Linked DNA regions of Homo sapiens: region 1 is linked to region 2. The links are contacts of gene promoters, found by promoter capture Hi-C in human tissues and cell types (Jung and others, 2019). All regions are on one chromosome and are shown on one strand. The core of a region is centred on a gene start or on the middle of the fragment in contact, and the rest is flanking DNA. Distances in the headings are between cores, read along the strand shown. Region 1 overlaps LOC107987243 (a long non-coding RNA gene). Region 2 holds the start of GJC1 (gap junction protein gamma 1).

Evidence for each region. The method cuts DNA at HindIII sites, captures the fragments that hold promoters and counts their contacts. A contact is called where the count stands out against the background at its distance.
Region 1: a fragment that was not itself captured here is called in contact with the fragment with the promoter of GJC1 in region 2 in 1 of the 25 tissues and cell types used here (spleen).

Annotation. Positions count from the first base shown.
Region 1 is chr17:44,996,367-45,002,903 of GRCh38, forward strand. It overlaps LOC107987243 (a long non-coding RNA gene), which reads right to left. Exons shown (of 6, transcript XR_007065771.1): 3 at 1,846-1,891; 4 at 1-193. Among named protein-coding and RNA genes, the nearest start is that of C1QL1, 31 kb to the left of the region's middle. RefSeq lists an enhancer at 1,054-1,806. The HindIII fragment of the contact is 4,011 bases long and covers 2,291-6,301 here.
Region 2 is chr17:44,825,234-44,831,899 of GRCh38, forward strand. GJC1 (gap junction protein gamma 1) reads right to left here and starts at 5,054. Exons shown (of 3, transcript NM_005497.4): 1 at 4,829-5,054. RefSeq lists a silencer at 4,367-4,656 and enhancers at 4,712-5,685, 5,686-6,659. The HindIII fragment of the contact is 21,747 bases long and covers 1-6,666 here.

The DNA.
Region 1 (6,537 bases), core at 3,046-5,545, 170 kb after region 2:
CCGCTTCCACTGGCCACCTCCAGACGATACGGTGGAAACTCGTAGAGTGATGCAAGGACTGTCCTCTGTCATGAGAACGTTCTGAGTTGGTGGGAAGGAGACAAGATGTCCCAGTGGTTCCTCCCAGCTGCCGGCGTCTCTGAGGCTCGGAGTCTAATGCTGACCAGGCAGCAGCTGCCTGCTCTGCTGTTTCCTGCAGGGGTGGGGACAAGGGAGATGGATAAGATGTGGCTCCTGATGGATGGGGTCCTTTCTACCCAGTGGAGGAGATGGGACTGTTGTCCAAGAAATCACAGGAGTGCAGCATTCATTGAGCCTCTACGTGTAGATACACACACACACACACACACACACACACACACTCAAAGATGGCAGGAGTGAGGTTGCTTGGTATAAACCACAGGAGTTAAGGAAGGAAGAACTCAGGAGGCTTCAGACAGCTCGGAAGCCTTCAGCAGGAGGCAGGAGTTAGTCTGGGTCTTCAGGACTCCTGGGACATGGCTTCATGGAGAAGAGGGTAGTCATTCCAGGCAGAGGGAACAGCCCGTGCAAAGGCACAGAGAGGGGATGGTGGGAACACGGGCAACAGAACCAACTTGCAGGAGCCAAGGGAGCAAGCAGGATATGGAAGAAGCTGAGGAGGAGTGGTGGTTAGGGGACCTCTCAAATGCCCTTTTATTTTATTTTTACGTTTTATTGTTTTGAGATGGAGTCTCCCTTTGTCACCCAGGCTAGAGTGCAGTGGCGCGATCTCGGCTCACTGCAGCCTCCGCCTCCTGGGTTCAGGAGATTCTCCTGCCTCAGCCTCCCGAGTAGCTGGGACTAAGCACACACCACCATGCCTGGTTAATTTTTATATTTCTAGTAGTGACGGGGTTTCACGATGTTAGTCAGGCTGGTCTTGAACTGCTGACCTCAAATGATCCACCTGCCTCAGCCTCCCAAAGTGCTGGGATTACATGCGTGAGTCATCGTGCCTGGCCTCAAATGCTCTTTTAAGGCATGAAGATTCTTTTCTGATCCCCACATATGAGCATATGGTATGATTGGTTGTGTATGCTTAAGGGAGAGATAGGGCAAGATGTTTGAAATATGGGCCATTTTAGAAAAGCAGGCAATTTTGGCAGTGGAACCTTTTACTTTTGCATTTTCCCAGCCCTTCCTAACTTGCAGGTCATACCAGGTGGAGCTGGGGGCCATCTTCCAGGAACGTGCATCCCCAGAGGTGGATAGAGGAGGGGTACCATTTCCACAGGACACAGCCAAGGACCTCGTACCTACGTGAGGCACAGGGCCCTGGGTATCCTGCTTCCTGACTTTGCCTGCCTGCCCTAAACTAAGCTGCCCTTCCCACTTTAGTTCAAAACCAATCCTGTTCTTGCTGGTCCCAGGCCTCCTCTGAACAGGATGGAAATCAATGAACAACTTGCTGCTATTTGTAGATCTCATTTCCCTGCTGGTCCCCCAACCCTGGATGATCCTGACCAAGTTCAGCCCTGCCCATGCTACTCAGTCAGATGCACTGGCACTGTGCCCATCCACTCGGAGCCCAGTGCTCAGTACTGGGGCTGGCCCAGGGGAGCCGCAGCCCAGAGGCCCCTGCAGGGGGCAGGGCTTATCCTTTAGCTGGGACTAGAGGGTATGGATCCCTGAGAGCCTAGAGGAGATAAGGACAAAGCACAGACTCAGGAATCTGAACTGTTAAGAAAACCCTCCAAGGGATTCAAGGGAAGCTGGTGCAAGAATTGCTGGGAAATGAACAGCAAGCACTGGCTACTGTCAGCTTCCCTTCCACCTGCTAGCTGTGTGACTTTACTTACCTTCTCTGTGCCTCAGCATCCTCACCTGTGAAATGATGGCACGAAGAGCTCTGGCCTCGTTGAGCCTCTGCCTGGAGGGTTAACAGAGGAAACATAGGCATAGGGCTTAACTCAAAGCCGAGCACTTAACAGGCATTCGTCAGTGATTGACAGCAGCAAGTGAGACCAAGGGCCAGGAGCACCAGCACACTGGCCTTCTGCCTGGCCAGCCAGCCCCTCCTGGACACCCTTAGGGTCCCTGGGTGGGTAAGCTTGGTAACCTGTCCTAGAGCAGTGTGCCCATGCTGCACTCAAGGCCCATATTAGTCCCCTGGATGATGAGCGGGAGAGGCTCCCAGGAGGATGAGCAGGGGTAGGCTTGGCCTCGTGGAGGGAAACAAAACATTGACTCCCTAGGAGTTCCTGATCTGCCAGTCAGGATGATGCTGTTGAGGAAGCTGTAAGGTGTCGCCTTTAGGAGGGGTCAGGGAGGGGTCCCAGCAGGAGGCTAGACACTTCCATGGGTGCTCAGTCCCTCAGGTTAGAGGGAAAGCCATACAGAGCCTGGGGTGGTGGGGGCCAGTAAGGCAGAGGGGAGCTGGATGCTTCCTTCCCACTGGGGGTGGGTAGTCAATTCCAAAGAACCACAACCCTTTCTCTTCTTTGATCTCTCTCTCTCTCTTTGTTGCCTTGCCTGTATGTATGGTAAAGCTTTCTCTTCTTCAAAGGGGCCCCAGGTGCCCAAGACTCCCTTCCCACTACCTTGAGACACACAGGGCATAACAGTTACAAATGTGGAGTTCAGCTCAGCTTGCTTGGTTTCTTTTTTCAACTTTATTGAAGTATAATTTACATACAATAAAATGTACACATTTTAAGTGTTCAGTTTGATGAGTTTTGACAAATTTATAGACACATATAACTACCACTACAATGAAGATATAGGGCATTTGCATCATCCCAAAAAGCTCCCCTGTGCCTCTTCCCCGTAGTTCCCCACCCTTCCCCCAGCCCCCGGCAACCACTGATCTGCTTTCTGTCACTATAGATTAGATTTGTCTTTTCTGGATTTTCATATAAATGGAATTATGTAATATGTACTCTTGGTTTCTGGCTGCTTTAACTGAGCAGAATGTTGATGAGATTCATCCTTGTTTTTATGGTGGTACTTTATTCTTTTTGTTGCTCAGAAGTATCCCATTATTTGCACATACAACAATCTGGCCACTTGCTGATGGACATTTGTCTTGTTTCCAGGGTTTCAGTTGCTGTGAATGAAGCTACCATGAGCATGTGTGTACACACAGGTCTTTCAGTAAACATATATTTTCATTTTTCTTGGTTAAACACCTGAGAGTAGGATAACCGAATCTTGTGGTTATTGTATGCTTAACTTTTCAAGAAACTGACAAACTGTTTTCTGAAGTAGTTGCACCATTGTACATTTCCATTATCAGCATGTGAGAGTTCCAGTTGCTCCACAAGCTCATCAACACTTACCATGGTCAGTCTTCCAATGGCTGTGCAGTGTATGTAATTGTGGTTTTAATTTGCATTTCCCTGATAACGAATAATACTGAATTTTTTTTCATGCACATATTGGCCATCCTATCTCTTCTTTTGACCCTTTTACGATGGGATTGTTTGTCTTCTTCCTATTGAATTGTAAGAGTTTGCTGGATACAAGTTCTTTGTCAGATATATGTATTGCAAATATTTTCTCCCAGGATATGGCTTGCCTTATTTTCTTAGTTGTTTATATCTTGATTCTAGGCTGGGCATGGTGGCTCATGTCTGTAATCCCAGCAATTTAGGAGGCCAAAGTGGGTGGATCATCTGAGGTCAGGAGTTCGAGACCAGCCTGGCCCAACATGGTGAAACCCCATCTCTACTAAAAATACAAAAGTTAGCCGGGCATGGTGGCACATGCCTGTAATCCCAACTACTCAGGAGGCTGAGGAGTAGAATTACTTGAGCCCGGGAGGTAGAGTTAGCAGTGAGCCAAGATTGCACCACTGCACTCCAGCCTGGGTAACAAGAGTGAGACTGTCTCAAAAAAAAAAAAAGAAAGAAAAAAAAATCTTGATTCTATTAGTTCCATGTTGTGCACTCTTGAACAAGGTACTTAGTCTTTCTGACCCTTCATTTCCTTATCAATAAAATGGGTCTAAAAGTACCTAGCATATAGAAGTGTTGTGACATTTAACTCAATTAATATATGTAAAATACCTAAACCCAGAGGAGGTCTTCAACTCGTAGTGGTCATTACTGCTATTATTAGGCTGGTGCAAAAGTAATTTGCTATTAGTTTCAATGACAAAAACTGCAATAACTTTTACACCAACCTAATATTTTCAGGCAGTTAATGGCTTCTCTTTCCCCTCTCCTGGATCTGGCCCTGATAGGTTGATATCTCTTTTCTGTCCATCTAGCTCCTGAGGATCCCATGGGCAGGCAAGGCAGGGACAGGATGGAAATAGGATGATGACTTAAGTCATCCTGTGCCCATCCTGCCCAGACACACAAATTTGGGAACCACAAGGTACTGAGCCCAGGGGCCCACCATCCTGGAGCCTCAGAGAGAAGGAAAAAGTCTCTGGGACCCCATAGCTCCTACTTGTGGACCCATGCACATTCACAATTCCTTAGTCACAAAGTCTACACAAACATATGTATGCCACCCCATCACACTCTGCCTGGCACCTGCACAAACTCAGACACTTACACGGGAAGAGAAATGCAGCCATCACTCTACTCCCCAACCCCCACTGCCACTGATCAGGAAGAGCCAGCTTACTGGCCAGACCATGCATAATTCAGAGGTTTGGCCCAAAATAGTTCTATCAGGCCCAGATTCTCCAGTGGGGGCTAGGGGAGGAGCAGGAGCAGCAAAGGGAGTGGGGAGAGACATCTCAACTTGGAGAAGACCCTAGAGTCTGCCTCCTGCCCTAGGTGCCTGGGCAGAGCCTGGGGGCCAGGGGAACTTCAGCGCAGCCTGAAGCACTCACTTCCCAAGTTCCCTCTCCCCCCCACACATCCCCAAATCCTCCCACCCTGGGGAGACAGGGTCACCCGCAGGCAGCTGGGAGTGCCAACACCTGGCCATTCACACCTGCTGGGGCCTGGAGTCCTCACCTGTGTGTGTCAGGCTCCCCAGCACCTCCCCAGGGCCCAGGCTGAGAGGGACACTGCTGAGTTCTCAGGCATCTTTGTCCCAGGTCTCCTGTCTTCACTTCACCAATCAATCAGTTGATAAGTCCACAAATATTTACTGAGCACAAGCCCGGGCAAAGCTGGGTCCTAGGACTTCAGAGGGCACCTGGCTGTGCATGGAGAGGCTCAGAACTTGCTGAGGAGGCAGGAAATCCACAGAAAGGACAAAGACTGGGTCAGAGAGGGACAGGCCATGGAGCTAGGGATGCAGGCGGGGAAAAGCTTCCAGCTGAAAGCCTGACTTGAGCTGGGCCTGCCCAGGTGAAGGCCTGGATTCAGAGAGATGGAAAGGCAGGTGGGAGGGACAGGGTCGGCTGGATGGGGGCAGAGGGTCCGAGGCTATCTGGATGTTAGTAAGAAGATTGGCTGATGGAACTGGAGTCATGTGAGGAAGTCATGGGGCAGGACTGGCATGGCCTTCAACCTTTGGTAGTTCAACAAGGATGGGGACTGCACCATATACAACTCCCGGGGGTTTCCCAAGATTCTCCAACGTGATGTTAAGTGCTTTGCTTTGGAGTCAGCCTACTGGGATTCAAATCCCAAAATCACTATGTCATTGCCCCATGACTTTGGGCAAGTGACTTAAGGTGTGTTTCCTTATGTGTTAAATGGGGGTAATAACAGTTTGTACCAGCCGGGTGCAGTGGCTTACACCTGTAATCCCAGCACTTTGGGAGGCTGAGGTGGGTGGATCACTTGAGGTCAGAAGTTCAAGACCAGCCTGGCCAACATGGTGAAACCCTGTCTCACCAAAAATTAGCCGCGTGTGGTGGCACACGCCTGTAATCCCAGCTACTTGGGAGGCTGAGAGGCTGAGGCAAGAGAATCACTTGAACAAGGGAGGTGGAGGTTGTAGTGAGCCGAGATCGGGCCACTACACGCCAGCCTGGGTGACAAAGCTAGACTCCGTCTCAAAAAAAAAAAAAAAAAAAAAAAAGTCTGTACCTCTTGGCCCTGTCGAAGAGATTAAATAAGAAGTGGACATATATTGGGAGGCTGAGGTGGGCAGATCACCTGAGATCAAGAGTTCGAGCCAACATGGAGAAACCCCATCTCTACTAAAAATACAAAAAAATTAGCTGGGCCTGGTGGCAGATGCCTGTAATCTCAGCTACTCAGGAGGCCGACGCAGGAGAATTGCTTGAACCCGGGAGATGGAGGTTGCGGTGAGTTGAGATCGTGCCACTGCACTCTGGCCTGGGCAAAAGAGTGAGAGGCCGTCTCAAAAAAATTAATAAATAAAAAGAAGTGCACAAATAGTGCTCGGCTTGCCTCCCACGTTCTTCCCACCTGCGTGGAGACAGACGCAGCAGCACAGAGTGTCTTCAGGACCTGGGTGGCTGACCAGGAGAGAGTGTTACTGCCCAGCAGTGAAAAGATGGTGTTGGTGGGCCGGGTGCGGTGGCTCATGCCTGTAATCCCAGCACTTAGGGAAGCTGAGGCGGCGGGTGGATCATTTGAGGCCAGGAGTTTGAGACCAGCCTGGCCAACATGGCGAAACCCCGTCTCTACCTAAAAATAC
Region 2 (6,666 bases), core at 3,804-6,303:
TCATGCCTGTAATCCCAGCACTTTGGGAGACCGAGGCAGGTGGATCACCTGAGGTCAGGAGACCAGCCTGACCAACATGGAGAAACCCTGTCTCTACCAATACAAAATTAGCTGGGCATGGTGGTGCATGCCTGTAATCCCAGCTACTTGGGAGGCTGAGGCAAGAGAATCTTGCCCAGGGGGCAGAGGTTGCGGTGAGCCGAGATTGCGCGACTGCACTCCAGCCTAGGCAACAAGAGCAAAACTCCGTCTCAAAAAAATAAAAAGGGCCAGACACAGTGGTTCGCGTCTGTAATCCCAGCACTTTGAGAGGCTGAGGCAACCTGAGGTCAGGAGTTCGAGACCAGCCTAGCCAACATGGTGAAACCCTTTCTCTACTAAAAATACAAAAATTAGCTGGGCGTGGTGGTGGACACCTATAATCCCAGCTTCTCGCAAGGCTGAGGCAAGAGAATTCCTTGAACCTGGGAGACGGAGGTTGCAGTGAGCCAAGATCGTGCCACTGCACTCCACCCTGGGTGAAAGAGTGAGACTCAGTCTCAAAAGAAAAAAAAAAAAAAAGTTGAATGACTTAATGGGCACCAGAATGCTTTTGTCCAAATTGTGCTTGTATTACAAGCATTATAGCCTCAAAGAACAAAGCTTCAACTGAGAGCTGGAGAAGAATTCATTTACCAGAATACTTCATTTCTTTCTTTTTATTTTGAGACAGAGTCTCGCTCTGTCGCCCAGGCTGGAGAGCAGTGATGCGATCTCGGCTAACTGCAACCTCCACCTCCCAGGTTCAAGCCATTTGCCTGCCTCAGCCTCCCGAGTAGCTGGGATTACAGATGACTGCCACCACGCCCAGGTAATTTTTTGTACTTTTAGTAGAAATGGGATTTCACCATGTTGGCTAGGCTGGTCTTGAACTCCTGACCTCAGGTGATCCACCCGCCTTGGCCTCCCAAAGTGCTGGGATTATAAGCATCAGCCACCACTCCTGGCCCCATTTCATTTCTTTAGAAGTAAAATGCTGGCCGGGCACGGTGGCTCACGACTGTAACCCCAGCATTTTGGGAGGCCGAGGTGGCCGGATCATGAGATCAGGAGATCGAGACCATCCTGGTTAACACGATGAAACAGTCTCTACTAAAAATACAAAAAATTAGCCGGGCATGGTGGTGGACGCCTGTAGTCCCAGCTACACAGGAGGCTGAGGCAGGAGAATGGCATGAACTCGGGAGGTGGAGCTTGTGGTGAGCAGAGATCACGCCACTGCACTCCAGCCTGGGCAATGGAGCGAGACTCCGTCTAAAAAAAAAAAAAAAAAGTAAAATGCTATCTGCAAAGAGATCATCATATCCTTGTTTTAGGAAAACTCTTTGGGCAATATATTCCACAGGTCTGAAAGATAAACCTTTATTGCCAAGGACTGCTCTCAGCCAACTACAGTACTTGTAAAATTCAAGAATGTATAACTGTATGCCAGCCAGTACTGACTAACAGGTCATTCACTCTTTAGAGTTGCAGTAAATAGCAATGCTCAAACGCCCAGCTAGTTTTTTGTATTTAAAATTATTTGTATTTAAATCTTAAAAAATATTTTTAAAAATACATTTTACTAGGTTCTTATTTCAACACAAACTGAACTCATCAGCTGTAGCAGTATGTTGAAAAACAACTGTTGCCATTCAGCTGATATTAACAGCTCAGAACTGTTTTCTATGTCTAAATTTCAGGTTAACGATATCAGCCAAAATCTATCTTCTCATACCTATTCTCAAAGGAACGGTCTTACAAAACTAATAATCTGGTCGAGTGCGGTGGCTCACACCTGTAATCCCAGCACTCTGGAAGGCAGAGGCAGGCGGATCACCTAATGTCAAGAGTTGGAGACCAGCCTGACCAACATGGTGAAACCCCGTCTCTACTAAAAAATACAAAATTAGCTGGGCATGGTGGGGCATTCCTGTAATCCCAGCTACTTGGGAGGCTGAGGCATGAGAATCACTTGAACTCGGGAGGCGGAGGTTGCAGTGAGACAAGATAGCACCGTTGCAGTGAGACAAGATAGCACCATTGCACTCCAGCCTGGGCAATAAGAGCTAAACTCCGTCTCAAAAACAAACAAACAAAAAAAAAAAATTCCTGCTTTTTCTTTGCCTAAATTTTTATCAAATATTTTGAACAGAAGCCACATGTATTTCTACACTACAAGAAAAGCATAAGTTCAGAAATAAGTAATCATACCCCCTAGTCAAACTTAACTATAGGAAGGAAGGACAGGACAGGACAGGAAAGGAGGAGAAAAAAGAAATTAGCTGGGTATACTCAGGAGGCTGAGGCAGGAGGATGGCTTGAGCCCAGGAATTTGAGGCTGCAGTGTACTATGACAGCCTGGGCATCATAGCAATGTCTTTGAAAAAAAAAAGGATGGCCGGGCACGGTGGCTCACGCCTGTAATCCCAGCACTCTGGGAGGCCGAGGCGGGAGGATCACAAGGTCAGGAGATCGGGACCATCATGGCTAACATGGTGAAACCCCATCTCTGCTAAAACTACAAAAAAAAATTAGCCAGGCGTGGTGGCGGGTACCTGTAGTCCCAGCCACTGCACTCTAGCCTGGGCGACAGAGCAAGACTCCATCTCAAAAAAAAAAGGAAAAGGAAAAAGAAAAAAGAACACACCTCACCAATTTTGAAATGTGAACATACAACAAATAAAGCAATATTTTTTGGAACTCATCACTTTGCATTGAATTAGGCATGGAACAAACACTAAGCATTTGTTAAGAGAACGATGCTCTGGATTTAAATTATATATCCTGTATTCTAAGATCCTCATTACTCAATTGATAGGCAAGCCTGGACCTGGGGGGAAGTGGACTAATCAGAAACACAACCCTGCATTCCTTCCCTTTGGCTGACTTATACAAATATAAGAATAAAATTTAATTGACAAAGGATAACAGCATTTATAAGTAAGATTGTTATGCTGGAGATATGTTAATTAAGTCCTCTGGATTAAAGGCTAAAACTCAATTTTACCTGCATGAATTGATTACAGAGAAAATTACCAGGTCCTTTGCTCCTTTTTAAGAGAACTGTGGTAGAACTTTTTAAGAGAACTGTTTCTGGTAGAAAACAATTCTTAAGTCACACAACCTCAAAAGTTAAAAGTGCTGGCTTTTGAAGAGGTTGTTTGAAATGCTTTGGAAAAATGCACAACAGTTTAAGTAGTAAATAATATTAAGCCATTACAAATCAGGACAAATATTAACAGACCTTCCATACAACTTCTATGTATCTCTTCAATATGCCCTTTGCCTACAGCACTCTGGGCACAAAAATCTGGGGAAAACTAAGATCTGTTTATTGGAGCTTTTTACCTTCTACCCAGAAAAGTTAGTTCGTGTTTAATTCTGACATTACACAGTACTTAAGACATTCAAAGCAACTGCAGTGATACAACTCTATGCTAAGTTTTTTTTAAATCAGTAAACTTAACCCACAACTCACAATATTTTAATCAGGAGCTCTGGAAGTAAGGGTATTTTTCTGTTTTTTTCCATACCCTCTGAGGTTGAAATTTTTTTGCTCTTTTACTCTGAATAATACCTAAACCCTCTCTAGGGAGAGAAATATTTTATTCCTAAATGACATTATTAACGCATTTTTCTACAGATATTAAAGTACTGGAGATATGCTGTTTCCTGCTTATCAGGAAATTAAAATCCCTTTCATTTATGTAGTTTGATTTTTTATAGCGCTTTCACATATATTCACTTGAACGTATACACGACACAAACATATAACAAATTTAGACTTATCAGGCATACAAGATGACCCTCAGCCTGAACTTATTCAAACTTAACTTACTCGATTTCACATCGTCTTGATGCTAACAAAATTAAGCATGAGCATAATGAAATCGGTATCACTGCCAGTTCTCAATGAACAAAAAGAAAACCAAATTCGCCCATTTCGCAAAGGAAAAGTACTCCCAATCAGACAATCGCAAAAAAAAGAACAAAATCTAAACCATACATTCACGTACATCTTTTCAACTCAGAGCTCCAAACGCAGCCGCCAACCACACAACTGCCCACAATCACAGCGGTAGCGCCTACTCTTAATTTTGAAGCTAGAGACTTAAGGAAACACACACACACACAAAACAGTTCTCAAGTTTGACAAAGTGGGGGAAAAGTCATTTTAAGTAAAGACAACGAGTTAATCAGGAGGCGATGAGCCCAGTCCTTCCGCCCCGCTTTCCCGCTTCCAGCCCTCGAACGAACCCTCCTCTAACCCCCGGGAGGCAGGAGTTCCAGCGGGGAGATGCGGGAAGCCTCAGACGAGCCCGCACGCCGCCGGAGACGCAGGGATCGAGGTCGGGGAGACAAAGAGCAGCCCGCGAAGAGCCCGGGCGGCGAGGGGCGGCCCGGCTCCGCCCTGCGCCCCTAACCGCCCGGGTAGTTGTCGGCACCGCCGGGGCGCCGCCGAGTGCGCGCCGCTTCTGTCCGGGCTCCCCGACCGTCGCCCGACACCTCCGCGGCCCAGGACACCCCCGAGCCGTTTCCCTCCCGATTTGGGAGCCGCGCGCCTGGGGACAAAGAGGGAGGGTGCGCCGGGGACAGTGGCAGGACGCGGGCCGGCGACGCCCCTCCGGACTCGGCGGGAACCCCTCGGCGGCGCCCCCCTCCTTCTCCCGCTCTGGCCGCGCTCCTCCCCGGACCTCCGGAGGTTCTCCTCGGCCCCTCCCCGGGCTCCCCAAGAGTTCTCCCGCCTCCCCCTGGGACCCCGCCCCTGGCCCGCTTCTCCTCAGCCGGCCCTGCGGCCGCCCCTCACCCGGCGGCGGGTTCCCCCGGAGCCGCCTCCTCCGCCGGGCCTCGGCCCGTCCCGCCGGTCGCGGCCTCATGTGCCCCGCGTCGCCATCGCCTTCACCCTCGCCTCTCCTCCACCTCCTCCGCCGCTGCCGCCTTCGCCTCAGTCTCCAGCCGAGGCAGAAGCCGCTCCCGCCGCTGCCGCCGCCGCCGCCGCCTCCCGCTCCCGCCGCCGCGACCCGCGGGAAGGCGCCTGCGCACTGCGCGCTGCGGTGGGGGCGGGGGCGTCCCGCCGCGGCCCGGGAGCGGGGGGCGCGCGGCACGTGGCGCTCGAGTGGGAGGGGGGCGCCCCAGAACGCGCGGGAAGCGACGCGAGCGCCAACTTTCCGCGGTCGAGTCCTCGCCGCTCTCTCGGATAGTCCGGGACGCGGCGGAGGCGCGGCGCGCGTGGGAGTCACCCGCGTGGAGTCTGGACCCCGGGTGGGCGCAGACTTCGCTCCGGACAGTTCATTCTTCCAAGCTGATTTTCGGGCGAGAGTCCCCCGCCAGCCGCGCCTCAGTTTGAGCGGGCCGCTAACGGCGCCGTGGGTTCTCGCCTTACCTGGGTATCCTGGGTTGGTTTAGCGGGCCCAGAGTTGTCTTCTGCGCGCTCCGCCGAGGCCTTGGTCCATTGTAGCACGGGATGCTAATGTCTCCTCCCAGGTTCTGCTCTACAATTCCTCGAGGATCTGGCGGGCCCTGCGTGGATCTAGCTAGAGTCGGGGCTCTTAGCAGTGCTCTAGATACTTTTCAGGTCCTGAACTTCTCGGATTAGCAAGACCCTAATAGGCTATTTCCTCTTAACTCTTTGCATCCCAGCAGGATCCCATTCAGAGGACTTGGGAAAAATTTTCATGCATAGGAATCCCCAGTTTTAAAATGCCCAGTAGGAAACCGAAAATTCTCCAAATGCTTTAAGTAGAGTAAGACTTTGGGTAATAAAGGAAGGCTCAGTAAAGAGATGGGCGACCTCTGGAATGATCTCATCTGAGCATCAGAATGCCGATGGACAGGCTTTTATTATTTTGCCCTTTTGACCAGAGGGGAAATTAAGCGCTAACAAGTGAGGTTACTTGCTGCAAGTCAAACTCCCCCACCCAAAGCCAAGCCCTAAGGGGTAGCCCCAGAGTGGAAATCTTGAAGGCTAGGCATCTAATGCACTGACCAGTTTTGTGTGGCCAGTATGTTTTCCAAAAATATGAATTAGTTACCAAAATATTAAAATCCAGATTTCTGGCCTCCCTAAAAAGTCAAAAGCTGCTTACTTTGAGCTTCTCTTTTCACATGGCAGCTCCTCTTGAGTCACCTTGTCCGGGTAGGCAATGTCCCCACTCAGCTGCTTAAATCATTTCATGACCTGCTTGGCCTCGGAGCATTTAAGTACTTCTCCCTGTGATTGCTGTAGTCTGTCCCCACGCCTTATCACATTGCCTCTCTACAGATGTATTTAAAATGACAAGTGTGGGATGGGCGCGGTGGCTCACGCCTGTAATTCCAGCACTTTGGGAGGCCTAGGCAGGCGGATTGCTTGAGCCCTGGGGTTCCAGACCAGCCTGGACAATATGGCAAAACCCCCATCTCTACAAAAAATACAAAAATTAGCCGGGTGTGGTGACGCGCACCTGTGATCCTAGCTACTCCAAGCATGAGGTGGGAGGATCGCTTGAGCCCGGGAGGTCAAGGCTGCAGTAAGCTGAGATAGCGCCACTGCACTCCAGCCTGAGCGACAGAGTGAGACCCTGTCTCAAAAAAATAAGTGAAAAAAATAAAATGACCAGGGTGAAAACTCTGAAAATACCTGGAAATAATAAATAGCATGTAACT